Regions from separate parts of the Homo sapiens genome. Here regions 1, 2, 3 and 4 are each linked to region 5. Evidence: promoter capture Hi-C in human tissues and cell types (Jung and others, 2019). All regions are on one chromosome and are shown on one strand. Each heading gives the region's core, a stretch centred on a gene start or on the middle of the fragment in contact. The rest is flanking DNA. Distances are from core to core; before and after follow the strand shown. Region 1 overlaps KIAA1549L (KIAA1549 like). Region 2 has its middle 6.7 kb from the start of KIAA1549L. Region 3 holds the start of LOC124902660 (a long non-coding RNA gene). Region 4 overlaps KIAA1549L (KIAA1549 like). Region 5 holds the start of FBXO3 (F-box protein 3).

Region 1 (2,700 bases), core at 198-2,697, 370 kb after region 5:
CCTCTGACTATTGTGTTGTTCTGAAGGAGGAATATTTCCCCACACAAGCAGTTGCTGACTTTTTTTCAAGTGCAGTTTAAGGATACCTAATTTTTTTTTTTTTTTTTTTTTTGAGATGGAGTCGCGCTCTGTCACCCAGGCCGGAGTGCAGTGGCAAAATCTTGGCTCACTGCAGCCTTTGCCTCCTGGATTCAAGTGATTCACCTGCCTCGCCCTCCCGAGTAGCTGGGATTACAGGCATGCGCCACTATGTCCGGCTAATTTTTTTTTTTTTTTTTTTGTATTTTTAGTAGTGATGGGGTTTCACCATGTTGGCCAGGCTGGTCTCAGACTCCGGGCCTCATGTGATCCGTAGAACACTTAATCTTAAAGATGATGTCAGAAATGAGACAACCAACTCCCTAACCAAGGAAAGTCTATATCACTTTGGACATGTGGGACTGGGACAGAGAGGTGCCAAAAAAACTTGCTCACATGAGGCATCTGTGTGTAGGAAGCTTTCCTAAAGGTTTGGGAAGATCTAAAATTTCTGTATACATATATACATGTGTATATATATATATATATATATACACATATACAGAGTATGTATATATATATCTCTAACTTATGGAGAGCGCCATATAAAATATTAGACTTGGAAGATATTAGATATTAGATATCACTGAATCCAATTTTGCTGATGGGGAAACACCACATGATAGGCCCAAAACCAAGATCACGCAGATGCTATGTGACGAAGTCCCCTGCCCAGCAACACTCCCAACTCAGAATTTAGTTCTCTATTCCCGACTGATGCCCAGAGCACCAGTTAGCTACCTGCCTAGCTCCAGAATGTATTAGCTCAGTTTTACATGTTTTAGAAAAGAAGGTACTACAAAAGACATTTTCCAATCTTTCTGTTTTGTACACAATATTTGTTCCTTATTTCAGAAGAGTAGAATTGATTGAGGTTTTTTCCTCCAGAAAGCGGATAATTAAACAACAAGGTAAAATTTTTATTATCTTAACACCCCTTGAGAAGGAAACTGTCTTGTTTACAAGGTGGGAAAAAAAAACAACTTGATGAGCTTCTTGGGCTTGGAAGGTGAGACCCTGCAGGAACGGGTCATTCCCAGTAGGAAGTTGACTAAAGAAAGCTCAAGAACTCTGAGTGAGAACTCATGAGGAATGTGGGGGTTGAGGATGAAAGGGAAGAGAGAAAATGGATAGACGGGCGCAGAAGGCTGGGGGATTTAAAGTTTTTAGAATTGGCCAGGAACTTTTCAGAACAAGGAGGCAGGGTTTCCCTTGTAAAGCCATCTGCTTCACTGCAAGGCAAACCCTTAGGATTCCCCAACCCTCATTAGAGTCTTCTCTGTACTTGTGAATGGTGAGTTCAGGTGGGTGGTTTGAAGGAATTAAAAGGATTAGGGCAGGGCACGGTGGCTCAGGCCTATAATCCCAGCAATTTGGGAGGCCAAAGCGGGCAGATCACTTGAGGTCACAAGTTTGAAACCAGCCTGGCCAACACGGTGAAACCCCGTCTCTACTGAAAATACAAAAATTAGCAAGGCACGGTGGCGCGTGCCTGTAATCCCAGCTACTCGCAGGCTTGCAGACTGAGGCAGGAGAATCACTTGAACCCGGGAGGCAGAGGTTGCAGTGAGCCAAGATCATGCCACCGCACTCCAGCCTAAGCGACAGAGTGAGACTGTCTCAAAAAAGAAAAAGAAAAAGGACTGCCGAGGCGGGCGGATCACGAGGTCAGGAGATAGAGACCATCCTGGCTAACACGGTGAAACGCCGTCTCTACTAAAAATACAAAAAATTAGCCGGGCGTGGTGGCAGGCGCCTGTAGTCCCAGCTACTCGGGAGGCTGAGGCAGGAGAATGGCGTGAACCCGGGAGGCGGAGTTTGTAGTGAGCCGAGATCACGCCACTGCACTCCAGCCTGGACGACAGAGCGAGACTCCGTCTCAAAAAAAAAAAAAAAAAAAAATGAAAAAAGAAAAAGGACTGAACTCCACATCTACCTAGATAGACCTATGAAGAACAGGAACAAAGAGTCCCTACCTTGAGCTAGTTCAGTGAAGCAAGAGCTCAAAGACAGAAACTAGAACATAAGTGCCTGAGGAATTTACAGGAATCGTGAACATTACACCTCCAGCAGCAGGCAACAGGAGGGCTGGAGCCAATCTAAGTAGGTCTTAAGGGGCCAAAAGACCTCATCCGACACCTGGGTGTGCGAAAGCAAAGGTTAACAAAACTGTTACCCCAAAAATGAAGAATACGAAGCAGCAGCAAAGTATAACTGCATCCTGGTAGGTGCCTGATCCTTTACAATTAGATTCGTGAAGAAAGATGCAGTGAGCGCTGATCCCTTTGAGGCAGCGGAGGGCTAGGGGGCCTTAAGAAAGAAGAGTGCAGGGCAGAGTGGAGAGCAAATGTCAGACCTGCCCTGAATTTCAGGGGCTGCCAACTCTGGGGAGCTTTGCTCCGCTGCGCGGATTACAACACAACATAAGCAAAGGGGGTAGTTTGAGTTCCAGCTTCCCCATCTACATCCACCTGTCCCTAAGAGAGGAGATGATAGGATTCGGACCAAAGATGATTTGAAAACAGAGGCACCCAATGGAAAGCCCGGGGTCAAGGCAGCGGCCCCTCCCCTGCACATGCACACTGGTGTTGCCATATGGCCCGTGCACGTGTGAAGCATAAG
Region 2 (2,806 bases), core at 213-2,712, 410 kb after region 5:
CCCTGGCCAACATGGTGAAACCCCATCTCTAATAAAAATAGAAAAATTAGCCAGGCATGGTGGTGCACACCTGCAATCCTAGCTACTCAGGAGGCTGAAGCAGGAGAATCACTTGAACCCGGGAGGCAGAGGTTGCAGTGAGCCGAGATCATGCCACTGCACTCCAGCCTGGGCAGCAGAGTGAGATTCCGTCTCAAATAAATAAATAAATAAATCCTCCAGTGGGAGGAGGCAGGGTCTTTTGTTTGTTTTTTAACGATCAAAGGTCAATCTGTCTCTCACTAATACTTCTGTTGCTTTTGGGATTCATCCAATAGCAGAGCAGAGATCTGGTCTAGCATTTGACAGTATGGGGCTAGCTCATTTTTACTGTCTCTCTTTGCCCTCAATTTCTTGTCTCACTGTGTTGAGACTATTTCTTGGGCTCTGTGGGGTGGAAACCAGGATTGGTCATTGAAAATCTCAATGATTTACAACCTGAGTTGAAGTCCTAACTCCATCACCTAATAACTAGTAACCTTGAGAAAACTTTAAAACGCTACCACACTATCCCTTTCAGAAACTAGAGATATCTACCCAAGATATCAAGATACATGTATCTACTCAAAACAAATAAAAGCGTATGTTCACACAATGCTTTTACACAAATATATGGAGCAGCATTATTCACAATAGCCAAAAAGTGGGAAGAACTCATGAACTGGTGAAAAGATAAATAGAATGTGGGACAACCAAATACTGTTCATCGATAAAAAGGAAGAAAGTACTGATACATGCTACAACACTGATGAATTGAAAATACTATGCGAAATGAAAGAAGCCAGTCACAAAAGGTCACAATATTCTATGACTCCGTTTGTATGAAGTGTCCAGAAAAGGCAAACCAAAGAGAAAGTAGATTAGTGCTTACCTGGGGCTGGTGAGTAAAAACAAAAAGTGACTGTAATGGGCACAAAGTTTCTTTTTAGGGTAATAGAAATGTTTTAAAATTAGATTGTGGTCATAGAGAATTTAATGTCCTCCTAAAGCCAGGCACAGTGGCTCGAGCCTGGAATTCCAGCACTGGGAGGCCCAGGTGGGATTAGTTGAAGCCAGGAGTTCAAGCCCAGCCTGGGCAATACAGCAAGACCCTGTCTCTAAAAAAGTAAAGAAAAGAAAAGTCCTCCGAAAAGTCCTCCAAGAGATTGGACATCATCTTGACAGTGACAGTGAAAATTTGAAAGCAGGCTGGCATCCAAAGGCAACTTCAGAATTTTCATGAGAAGCTTTGAGGAAACTGGTCCAGGACTCGTCTTGAAGCTGAATTTGATAAGAAGAGCTCTGCTTTCACTTAGGTTATGTTTACTTGCCCCTTCTATTGCTCCAAGCATCTCCTTGGCACCTCCACTGCTACTGTCTTGGTCAAAATTGAATTTTAAAAAGACCACCTGGAAAGTAATGAGGAAGGTTGGAGGAGTGGGGGTGGACTCAAAGCCAGGAAGTCAGATAAAAGTATTAGTTTGGATAAGTTCCAGGTCTGAACTGAGGCAGCACAATGAGGATGGTAAGGAGACAGGAACAGTGTTGAAGGATTTGACAGGGAGTAACCAATGATACCAGGAGAAAGAGGAAGAGGAGGAGGGAAAGGGAAGAGAAGGGAAGGGAAGGGAAGGGAGAAGGGAAGGGAGAAGGGGAGGGGAAGGAAAGGGAGGGGAGGTAGGGGAGAAGGAAGGAAAGTAGGAAGGAAGATAGGTATCTGGGAATACAGGAAATATAGATACAGGAAAATTAGGCTTGGGGGAAAAAAACAAGTGCTAAAAGGAGCATCCAGGTAAAGCTGTCCATTAGGCCCAAGTTTCACAAACTCGAATGTACACATAAGTTACATGGGGATGTTGCTAAAATGAAGATTCTGATTAAAAAGGCCTGGGGTTACCATGGCTAGAAAAATTCCAGAAAATAAAGAAATCTATTTTTAAAAAATTTTGAAGTGAAAAAAAAGTAGTAAAAAAAATTGAAATACAAAAAGAAAAACAAAAATAAGTAGTAAAAAATACAAAAAAACACAAAAATATACAAAAAAAAAAAAAAGAGAGAGAGAGAGGCTAAAAAGAACGTCTGGGGTCACCCAGGAGTCTGCATTTATTTATTTATTTATTTATTTATTTATTTAAGAGGGAGTCTTGCTCTGTTGCCCAGGCTGGAGTACAGTGGCGTGATCTCAGCTCCCTGCAACCTCCGCCTCCCAGGTTCAAGCGATTCTCTTGCCTCAGCCTCCTAAGTAGCTGGGATTACAGGCATTCACAACCATGCCTGACTAATTTTTGTATTTTTTAGTAGAGAAGGGTTTTCACCATGTTGGTCAGGCTGGTCTCAAACTCCTGACCTCAGGTGATCCACCCGCCTCAGCCTCTGAAAGTGCTGGGATTACAAGCGTGAGCCATGGCACCCAGCCCCAGAGTCTGCATTTCTAACAAACTGTCAAGTGATGCCGAGGCTGATCGGAGACAACTCTTTGAGTAACAAGATATTGGGCCATTCGGTATAGGGCTTATACCTAACGTCAGTGAGTGAATTTTTAAAAAATCAAATCCCTAAGCTTTGGTAGTTGTTGAAAAGCTATTCCTGTGTTTTTACAAGAAACGAAAAATGAAAAAACAAAAAACAGCTTCATTTCTACTCTTCACTTCCCTGGAGATGACTAGGCACGGCCTCTGTATCCGTGGTTCTGCATCCACAGATTCAACCAACCTCAGGTGGAAAATACTCAGAGAAAAACTATAAAAAAATAGCAATACAGCAATAAAAACGTGGAAATAAAAAACAA
Region 3 (2,700 bases), core at 97-2,596, 290 kb before region 5:
CTCCAAAAAACCCTAAAAATTCTTCAACTAGACAATTTTAAATAGTCAGAAGGAAGATTAGGAGGAAACATCTGAAAAAAACTAACTTGGCTTTCCAGGAAAACTTCGTAACTCCTATTCTCAAATAAGGAGATGTCTAAACTGAGAGGGAATACTTAAAAATGAAGCCTAAAATAACCAAAGTAGTTAAGAGCACCTAGCTATACTTTATGTATCCAGGCCAAATAAATCACTTCTAGAGTACTGTACCAACTTTTGCAAAAACAAAATATTTCTTTTCCTCTCAACTTTCCATAATCTTTAGCAGTTTTCCTTTTTTTTTTTTTTTTTTGAGACGGAGTTTTGCTCTGTCGCCCAGGCTGGAGTGCAGTGGCGTGATCTCAGCTCACTGCAAGCTCTGCCTCCTAGGTTCACGCCATTCTCCTGCCTCAGCCTCCCGAGTAGCTGGGACTACAGGCGCCCACCACCACGCCCGGCTAATTTTTTTTATTTTTAGTAGAGACGGGGTTTCACTGTGTTAGCCAAGATGGTCTTGATCTCCTGACCTCGTGATCCGCCCGCCTCGGCCTCCCAAAGTGCTGGGATTACAGGCGTGAGCCACCGCGCCCGGTCCAATCTTTACCAGTTTTTCCAGGTATTATTTCAAGTCCCCAATCCCCACATTCTCTGTTCTTCACTTAGACAATTACGAGTTTTGACTTTGCCCACAATGGTAGGCAGCTGACTGTCTCCTATTTGCCCTCCACAAATTCAACTGAGTATTGTTAGCTAGTGAAATCCCCAGAAGACAAAAAAGATAGTAAGCAAAAGTTTCCTCAATTTTTAAAAGCAGGGTAGAAAGAACATACACTACAATCCATAGCTGATCCATGGCAGCTTTCTTCAAATGTTGAAAGCATGCTCATGTAGCGGGAGTCTATGCTGTTCCAGAAAACAAAGACTATTAAACAGTGGTGGTAAGGATATACTTTTTTTTTTTTTTTTTTGAGACAGACTCTCGCTGTGTCACCCATGCTGGAGTGTAGTGGTGCGATCTTGGCTCATGCAGCCTCTGCCTCCCAGGTTCCAGCGATTCTCCTGCCTCAGACTCCCAGGTAACTGGGATTACAGGCATAAGCCACTACGCACGGCTAATTTTTGTATTTTTAGTAGAGACGGGGTTTCACCATGTTGGCCAGGCTGATCTCCAACTCCTGACATCAGGTGATCTGCCCGCCTCAGCCTCCCAAAAGTGTTAGGATTACAGGCATGAGCCATTGTGCCCGGCCGGTAAGGATATACTTCTACCACCAAGAACTTAAAGAGTGGCACACCAATGAAACAAATTTTCATTGAGAAACGAGCACTCTACCAGGCCCTGGAAGACTGGTTAAAGCAGAGGCTGAATGAACACCTGTCAGGAATGCTGGATTTCTGAACGCTAAGAATGGCATAAGAATGCTAACCTAGGCCAGGTGCAGTGGCTCATGCCTGTAATCTCAACACTTTGGGAGGCCAAAGTGGACGAATCTCCTGAGGTCAGGAGTTTGAGACCAGCCTGGGCAACATGATGAAACCTGGTCTCTACTAAAAATACAGAAAATTAGCCGGGTGCGGTGGTGGTTGCCTATAATACCAGCTACTTGGGAGGCTTAGGCAGGAGAATCACTTGAACCTGGGAGGCAGAGGTTGCAGTGAGCTGAGATTGCGCCATTGTACTCCAGCCTGGGCAACAAAAGCAAAACTCCATCTCAAAAAAAAAAAAAAAAAAAAAAAGGATGTTACCTAAGGTTCCATTGTAAGATAATTTTTCAAGCAGGTTAAGTATCCAGGAGTTTAGTTTCACAAGCCGTTTGTCCAATTTTTTAAAAAAGATAAAAGCCAATCCTGTAAAAACCTTTATTCCTTGTCCAAGGTTATAATTATGCAGGTAAGTCTGAGTGAATTGAAGCAGCTGACTCTAGTAGGAAAAAGAAATGTTAACAAGTTCCAGCATCACCTACTTTGAACTATATTCTTAAAAAGTCTAAAGCTTCTAGATTTGAAAAGCAAATTACCATAAATAATCTTAAAGGGCATCTTTCAAAATATTAGTTGCTTTAACCAAGCTATTCCTTAGCATAATTCTGTACAACTTATTTATATTAATACATTCCTTGGGAGTTAAATGTAAAAAAATTACATCCCCACCATCACTGTTTTAATACTTTTTCGTTTTCTAAAACAGCACAGACTCCTGCTACATGAGCAAGCTTTCAGCATTTGAAGATAGCTGCCATGGATCATCTATAGATTGCAATGTGTTCTTTCTACCGTCGTCCTTTTAAAAATTGAGGAAACTTTTGCTTACTATCTTTCCTGTCCACAATGTAAAAAGAAGTTCAATGTAACTCAAAGTGTAAGCCCAAAGGGTTTTTTAATGACTAAAATATATTTCAGTTATTTCTATGTTTAGATAACAGTATTGAGGGGGGCCAGGCACAGTGGGTCAACCCTGTAATCCCAACACTTTGGGAGGCTGAGACAAGAGGATCGCTTAAGGCTAAGAGTTCAAGGTTGGAATGAGCTATGATTGCCCTGCTGAACTCCAGCCTGGGTGATAGTGAGACCCTGTCTCTAAAAAATTAAAATTAAAATATTTTTAGAACAGTATTGAGGAGAATGCAATGAAATTTCCAATAATGTACAATGGTTCTAATAATAAGAATTATCTGTGTTCTC
Region 4 (2,700 bases), core at 167-2,666, 350 kb after region 5:
AAAAAGAGGAAGGAGAAATAGGGACGGAGGGAGTATAGCAGCGAAGGGGGATGCATGGCCAAGGGAGGGCTTTCCTAACATGGAGAAATGGAAGACAAATCAGCATGCATATCTATGATGGGAGAGGAGCATACTGAGCAGGGGGAACTGCTGGCAGGAGGACCCCGACAGCCTGAGAGGGGATATTGTCTCCCACAAAGGGATCAGAGATGGTTCATCCTCAAAGGGAGAGAAGGCAGGATTCAGGCAGCCAGGTTAAGGCAGTGGTAAGGGCTTGTGGAAATCCTCTTCTACCTGTTTTTTCTTGGGAGATGGGGAGATTTTGTGAGGAAGAGAAGGTATGAAGCAGTCACCCTAGAGAATGGGCAGATGACTGTGCTAGGGAAATAGAGTGGCATTGCTGGGCAGCACCAAAGGCCCACTTGAGGTTCATGGTATAAACTGATGAGACTAATGAGCCTGGTCGTGTGGTTTTCTACCGCCCATTTAGTTGCCTGGGTAAAGGTGGAGAGCTACTGAATTTAATATTTATCCCTAAGTTTCCCCAAAACACATTTGACCACAGAAACCAATTAATAGCCCCAAAGAGCCTACATAAAATGCTAGTCTATGCTTAAACAGATAATAGGGGGTAGGAAAACACTGATTCCTAATTTTCTATCAAGCACAGATATAAATGATAATGGAGGGGCCAGATCTGGAGGCCCTCAGGGGAGCACCCACCAAGGGCAAAGGAGAAAAGATCAGCACAGCTGTCAGAACCTGAGCTTGCAGTCAGATTTCCACTCCATCCAAGTGCTCTTGGGCAAATGAATCTCTCTGAGATGTATCCTAAAATAAGGGAACTATCACCTACCTGCTTTTCAAAAATATTATTAAGATTAATGGTGACAAGCAGTTGGTACCCAGATTCTAGCACATAACAAACTTTCAATCTAAGGGTAATCATCATTATAGCCCCACAGCTCTGCCCAGGTGACCAGGTGAAAGATGATACAGCCAAAATACTATCACCTCCAGGTACTCAACCACCTGTGCACCAGGAGGGCCTCTGGGGATCTCAAAGAGTTAACCCTCCTTGCTCTCAATTTATGGTCAGGAACTCCATCAGTCAAGATACAGTTTGACTCCTTTAGCTTCAGAAAATTGGTCTTTCTAGCTCCTAAATTCATATGCAAGAAATGAAACCCCCTCTACTTCCCATAAAACAGGATATTTCACAAAGCTTTCATGTGTCCCAGTATCATGTTTTTAACTTCTGAAAAAACTTCAGACTCATAGAAAATTACCAAAGCAGAGAGTGCAGAGAGTTCAATACGCTTCACTTGGCTTCCTCTACTGTTAATATCCTACATAACCATAATACAATTACCAAAACCAAGAATATAACACTGATAAATTTATATTAACTACTCTAGACCTTATTTGAATGTTGCTAACTTTGTCTCTAATGTCCTTTTTCTGATGCAGAATCCAATCCAGGGTCCCACATTGCATTTAGTTCTCAAGTCTCCTTAGCCTCCACCAATCTGTGACAGTTCCTCAGTCTTTCTTTGTCTTTCATGACCTTGCCATCTGTGAAGAGGACTGACTAGTCAGGTATTTTGTAGAACTGCCCTTAATTTGGGTTTGTCTGGTGTTTTCTCGTGCTTAGACTGAACTTGTGCATTTTCAGTAAAAATCCCAAAGAAGTGATGTTTTGCCTTTTGCTCTGTGCATCAAAATAAGGAGAACATGTTGACACATCTCATTACTGGTGATGTTATCTTTGATTACTTTATTTGGCTAAAGTAGTGTTTGCTGGGTTTCTCCATCCATATGACGTGTGATGCAAAGTGAAATAGAATTCCAGCCTTTCCTAATAATAGCGGAAATAAGCAGATGTTTTCATCTACGTACAGCAAGTGAGAGGACTTGAACTCAGGTTTTCCAAGTCCAAATGCTGTCTTCATTGTACTCTCATTACTGCATTTGGATGTCTCCCATGAATATTTATCTCAAGTATATTTCAAAGCTTATGTTCCATAAGGAAATGCCACAACAAATCACTCTTATGAGCCCAGGGCTTCTCCAATGAAAGCTACAGTACAAAGTATAAAACACAGTTGTCAGAGAAACAGATATTAACATGAAGATCCCTTGATACATCACAGTGACACAGGAACATTCTCAATGACTGCACTTTATTTGCTGCAAGTACAGAGAACAAATCAGCAGAGAATGAGTCAACCAAGAGAACCAAGAGTCCTCTAATTGACAAAATTTTAAAATAGGACTTGAGGACCAAGAAGAAGAGCTGTAAGAAACACAAGGTAAGTTCTCTTCTGCTCTAGATACTAACGTATATACAAATCTTCAAATCAATTAACTCATCTTAGGCTCTGAAAAGCTCCTTGAGATGGAATTAGAGCACATATTAACATCTCCACCCTACAAATGAATAAAATAAGACATAAAGAGATCAAAGTTTGGTATCTAGAAAGGGAATCAAAATCAAGGTTTTATTTGTTCATTCATTTAACTAGCACTGACTCCCTGCCAACTTTCTATTCTAAGTGCTGGGCATTTGGAGATACTGGAGACCCATGGTCTCTTGACTGGAGGAGTTTAGCTTTCCTCATGCCCTCTGTACAGAGGCCAGAAAGGCAGCACCTCTCCCAACCTCATTCTTCACCTCCTCACCACACAGAGTCCACAGCC
Region 5 (2,792 bases), core at 251-2,750:
GAAATTAGAAAGATGAGTCAGACTGAGAGTTTACAGTTTGACGAGAGAGACACAGAACAAGTACTTGAAATCCAATTCAATAAATGTTCTTCTAAGCATATGCATAAACAATTTGGAAGCACAGAGATGTAGGCAGAGTTTTTTGTTGCTGTTGTTCTGTTTTGTTGGCTGGGTGGCAGGGGTTATAACTATTAAGCAAAACCATAAATAGAAGGCATTAATGGTATGAAGAATGGAGGAAATGGATTTTTTTGGGGCGGGGCATATCACTTCCACTCTTCCAAATAATTGAGAGAAACTTTCTCCAGGATATGGAAATGTTTGGAGAACTTAGTGACTGATGCATGTATAAGCTTGGAAAATTAACATTTATTGAGTATCTGGCCAGGCACTTTACATAAAGCGTTATCGCCATCCTTAGTTCACCAGAGGAGGGGTGGTTTTAGAGATGAGGGACAGTCTCAGAGAACTTAGGCGTAACTACGCCAGCATTTCACTAGTAGTGAAATAAATGACGGGCGTGTGAAGTCCAGGTCTGTCTGGATTCCCCAAAGCCCCTTACACCATACTACCTTTGGAAAAGCAATGGAAAAGAAGAAATCAGGCAAGTGATGTATGGACCCATTATACTTCCCCCACTCTCATTTTAATATCACCTTGGCAAAGCTGAAGAGCAGACATCTTCGTGCCTCCATCAGTTATGCCCTCTGGGAGTCTCAGTTCATCCCTTCACACGCGGGATACTTAACTCTGCGGGATCTAAACCCTGGCCAAAATAAATTTTAAAGCTGGAAAAAATCCACACTGTACCCTTTGCATTGCCCTAATAGGCTGAAAATAGCCATGATAACCAAATTAAGGGACAGCGGCTGAGACTCAGACTCACTCCTTGTACACATTTTACTTAGGAAGGCGGGGAGGGGCGTGAAGTTAAGCCCTCAACAATTATTTCCTTAATTTGGGAGAAGGGCCTTCAGCTGGCGTCCCTGGCTGATTCTCAGCTCTGCTCTTGCTGAGTGGACAAGTCTCGGAGCGGCCCTGCTGTGTGCGGGGGACAAGCGGGGTGGGGAAGGCTGAGCGGGGAAAACGAGGGGTTCTCGGGTTGGAAAACAAAGAGAAGGAATGGATTTGGGGACCAAGGGCGTGGAGGAGTGTCAGATTTTGAGCGAGGCTTCCTGCATACTGAGTGTAAAATTTCGCAGGAGGAGTTGGGCAGACCGAGGCAGATTTGGCAACAAAAGGGTCCCGGGCTGGGCAAGTTTACGAACCGGGATGCGAGAACAGAGCTGGAGAGATTTGACGCGGAGCGCGAAGAAAGCGGGCTGAACTCGCACTGCGCCGCTGGCTCCCGGCTAGCGGGCGGGGTCTCCAGGGAGCCGCACCTCAGCCCACCCTGAGGGCGGGGCTGGCCCGGCGGTTACATAACAAACCTGTGAGAGCGGCTGGGGGCGGTTCGGGCGCTGGTGGGGGCGGGGCAGGGGCGGGGCCAGGGCGGGGCCAGACCTGCACCGGGCCAGGCAAGATGGCGGCCATGGAGACCGAGACGGCGCCGCTGACCCTAGAGTCGCTGCCCACCGATCCCCTGCTCCTCATCTTATCCTTTTTGGACTATCGGGATCTAATCAAGTAATGGGACGACACGCATGGCAGGGGTGGGGGCATGGGGAGAGGAGGCGGTGAGGCAGGGGGAAAGGGGGTCGGGGCCGCTGACAGGACCCGAGCTTCCGCGACACCAGAAGGTGACGCCAGGGCCGCCCTCATCCTGCGGAGCCACCGGGGACCGGGGCGAGACGGGGGCGGAAAGGGCCTCGCCCTGAGTCTTCCTCCTGTCCTGGGCCCAGGTATGAGAAGCGACGAGATATCTCTCTCCCAGGCCTCGGTGAGGCCCACTTGCAAGAGAAGGAGGTAGTGGCCCTCGTGCCGCACCGCCGCGCTCCGCGGACCCCCGCTGGCCCCGCAGGTGCCCGCCCGGTTGGGGTCAGTCCCTGCTGCTGTGTAAAAGCCCCTGTCCCGGCCAGGCGCTCTTCTCTGCTGGGTCCGGGGCCTGCGGAGTCTGGCGCCGGGGTGGGCAGGTGGGTGAGCGAGAGGAGAAGATAGGCAACCCCTTACTCCCCTGGCGCGACTTCCCCAGCGCCAGAATCGCTGTCCGGGCTCACTTTCGGACTTCAGTGCGTGAGAATTGTTTTGCTGTCAGCATTGCTCCTTACGGTTCGATGTTGGATTTTATGTTTTGGTACTGACTTCCGGTGATGCCATACCGGTGACTATCTTTTCTCCTGGACACCTTGGGTTTCCCACATTACTAGCATCTGTTCCAGAAATAAACACCGGTTGCTGATAAGGGTGGTTCAATGCCCAGTTTCTTCAGAACTTGGGACTGTCTGGGGTGGTGGAAGAAATGGCGCTGCCAGCCCGCCCCCCAGCTGTCAGGATTGTTTACACCCTTGACAGGGGGTGGCATGGCTGTGAGTTTCCTGTGCTACCGTATATATTTGCAGAGGATGCAAAGTCGCCCTCTTAGGATAGGTGGGCGAGATTTGTTTTGTGTTTGGATTAACCATTAGATTCTAGCCATTTGATGATTGTGCCCTGTGTTATTAGAGGTCTTTTTATAAATACAGATTTCTTGGAGCTACAGATAGTTGTTGGCCTAGCTAAGTGGTGATAGAGAGATACCTCAAGTTTTTGGTCACTACCTGTACTGGTCGCTACCTGTACCTGCTAGCAATTTTATTTTTCTAGAAAATACTTACAATTTAACTAACAGTCTCCAACTTTTGATTGCTGCCAGA

The links. Contacts are between HindIII fragments. The study calls those that stand out against the background at their distance.
Region 1: a fragment that was not itself captured here is called in contact with the fragment with the promoter of FBXO3 in region 5 in 1 of the 25 tissues and cell types used here (heart left ventricle).
Region 2: a contact is called between a fragment that was not itself captured here and the fragment with the promoter of FBXO3 in region 5, in 1 of the 25 tissues and cell types used here (heart right ventricle).
Region 3: a contact is called between a fragment that was not itself captured here and the fragment with the promoter of FBXO3 in region 5, in 1 of the 25 tissues and cell types used here (dorsolateral prefrontal cortex).
Region 4: a fragment that was not itself captured here is called in contact with the fragment with the promoter of FBXO3 in region 5 in 1 of the 25 tissues and cell types used here (IMR-90 fibroblasts).

What each region holds. Positions count from the first base shown.
Region 1 is chr11:33,406,362-33,409,061 of GRCh38, reverse strand. All of the region lies in intron 1 of KIAA1549L (KIAA1549 like), which reads right to left. Among named protein-coding and RNA genes, the nearest start is that of KIAA1549L, 32 kb to the right of the region's middle. The HindIII fragment of the contact is 6,349 bases long and covers 1-2,700 here.
Region 2 is chr11:33,368,005-33,370,810 of GRCh38, reverse strand. No RefSeq gene overlaps it. Among named protein-coding and RNA genes, the nearest start is that of KIAA1549L, 6.7 kb to the left of the region's middle. The HindIII fragment of the contact is 3,548 bases long and covers 1-2,806 here.
Region 3 is chr11:34,060,256-34,062,955 of GRCh38, reverse strand. All of the region lies in intron 2 of CAPRIN1 (cell cycle associated protein 1), which reads right to left. It overlaps LOC124902660 (a long non-coding RNA gene), which reads right to left and starts at 2,478. Exons shown (of 2, transcript XR_007062651.1): 1 at 1,765-2,478. The HindIII fragment of the contact is 3,578 bases long and covers 1-2,700 here.
Region 4 is chr11:33,424,845-33,427,544 of GRCh38, reverse strand. The region is part of intron 1 of KIAA1549L (KIAA1549 like); the gene reads right to left. Among named protein-coding and RNA genes, the nearest start is that of KIAA1549L, 50 kb to the right of the region's middle. The HindIII fragment of the contact is 4,649 bases long and covers 1-2,700 here.
Region 5 is chr11:33,773,228-33,776,019 of GRCh38, reverse strand. It overlaps FBXO3 (F-box protein 3), which reads left to right and starts at 1,500. Exons shown (of 11, transcript NM_012175.4): 1 at 1,500-1,626. The coding sequence starts at 1,523. It overlaps FBXO3-DT (FBXO3 divergent transcript), which reads right to left and starts at 1,321. Exons shown (of 3, transcript NR_120550.1): 1 at 1,269-1,321; 2 at 657-766; 3 at 350-572. RefSeq lists silencers at 1,408-1,507, 1,968-2,037 and an enhancer at 1,986-2,486. The HindIII fragment of the contact is 9,520 bases long and covers 1-2,792 here.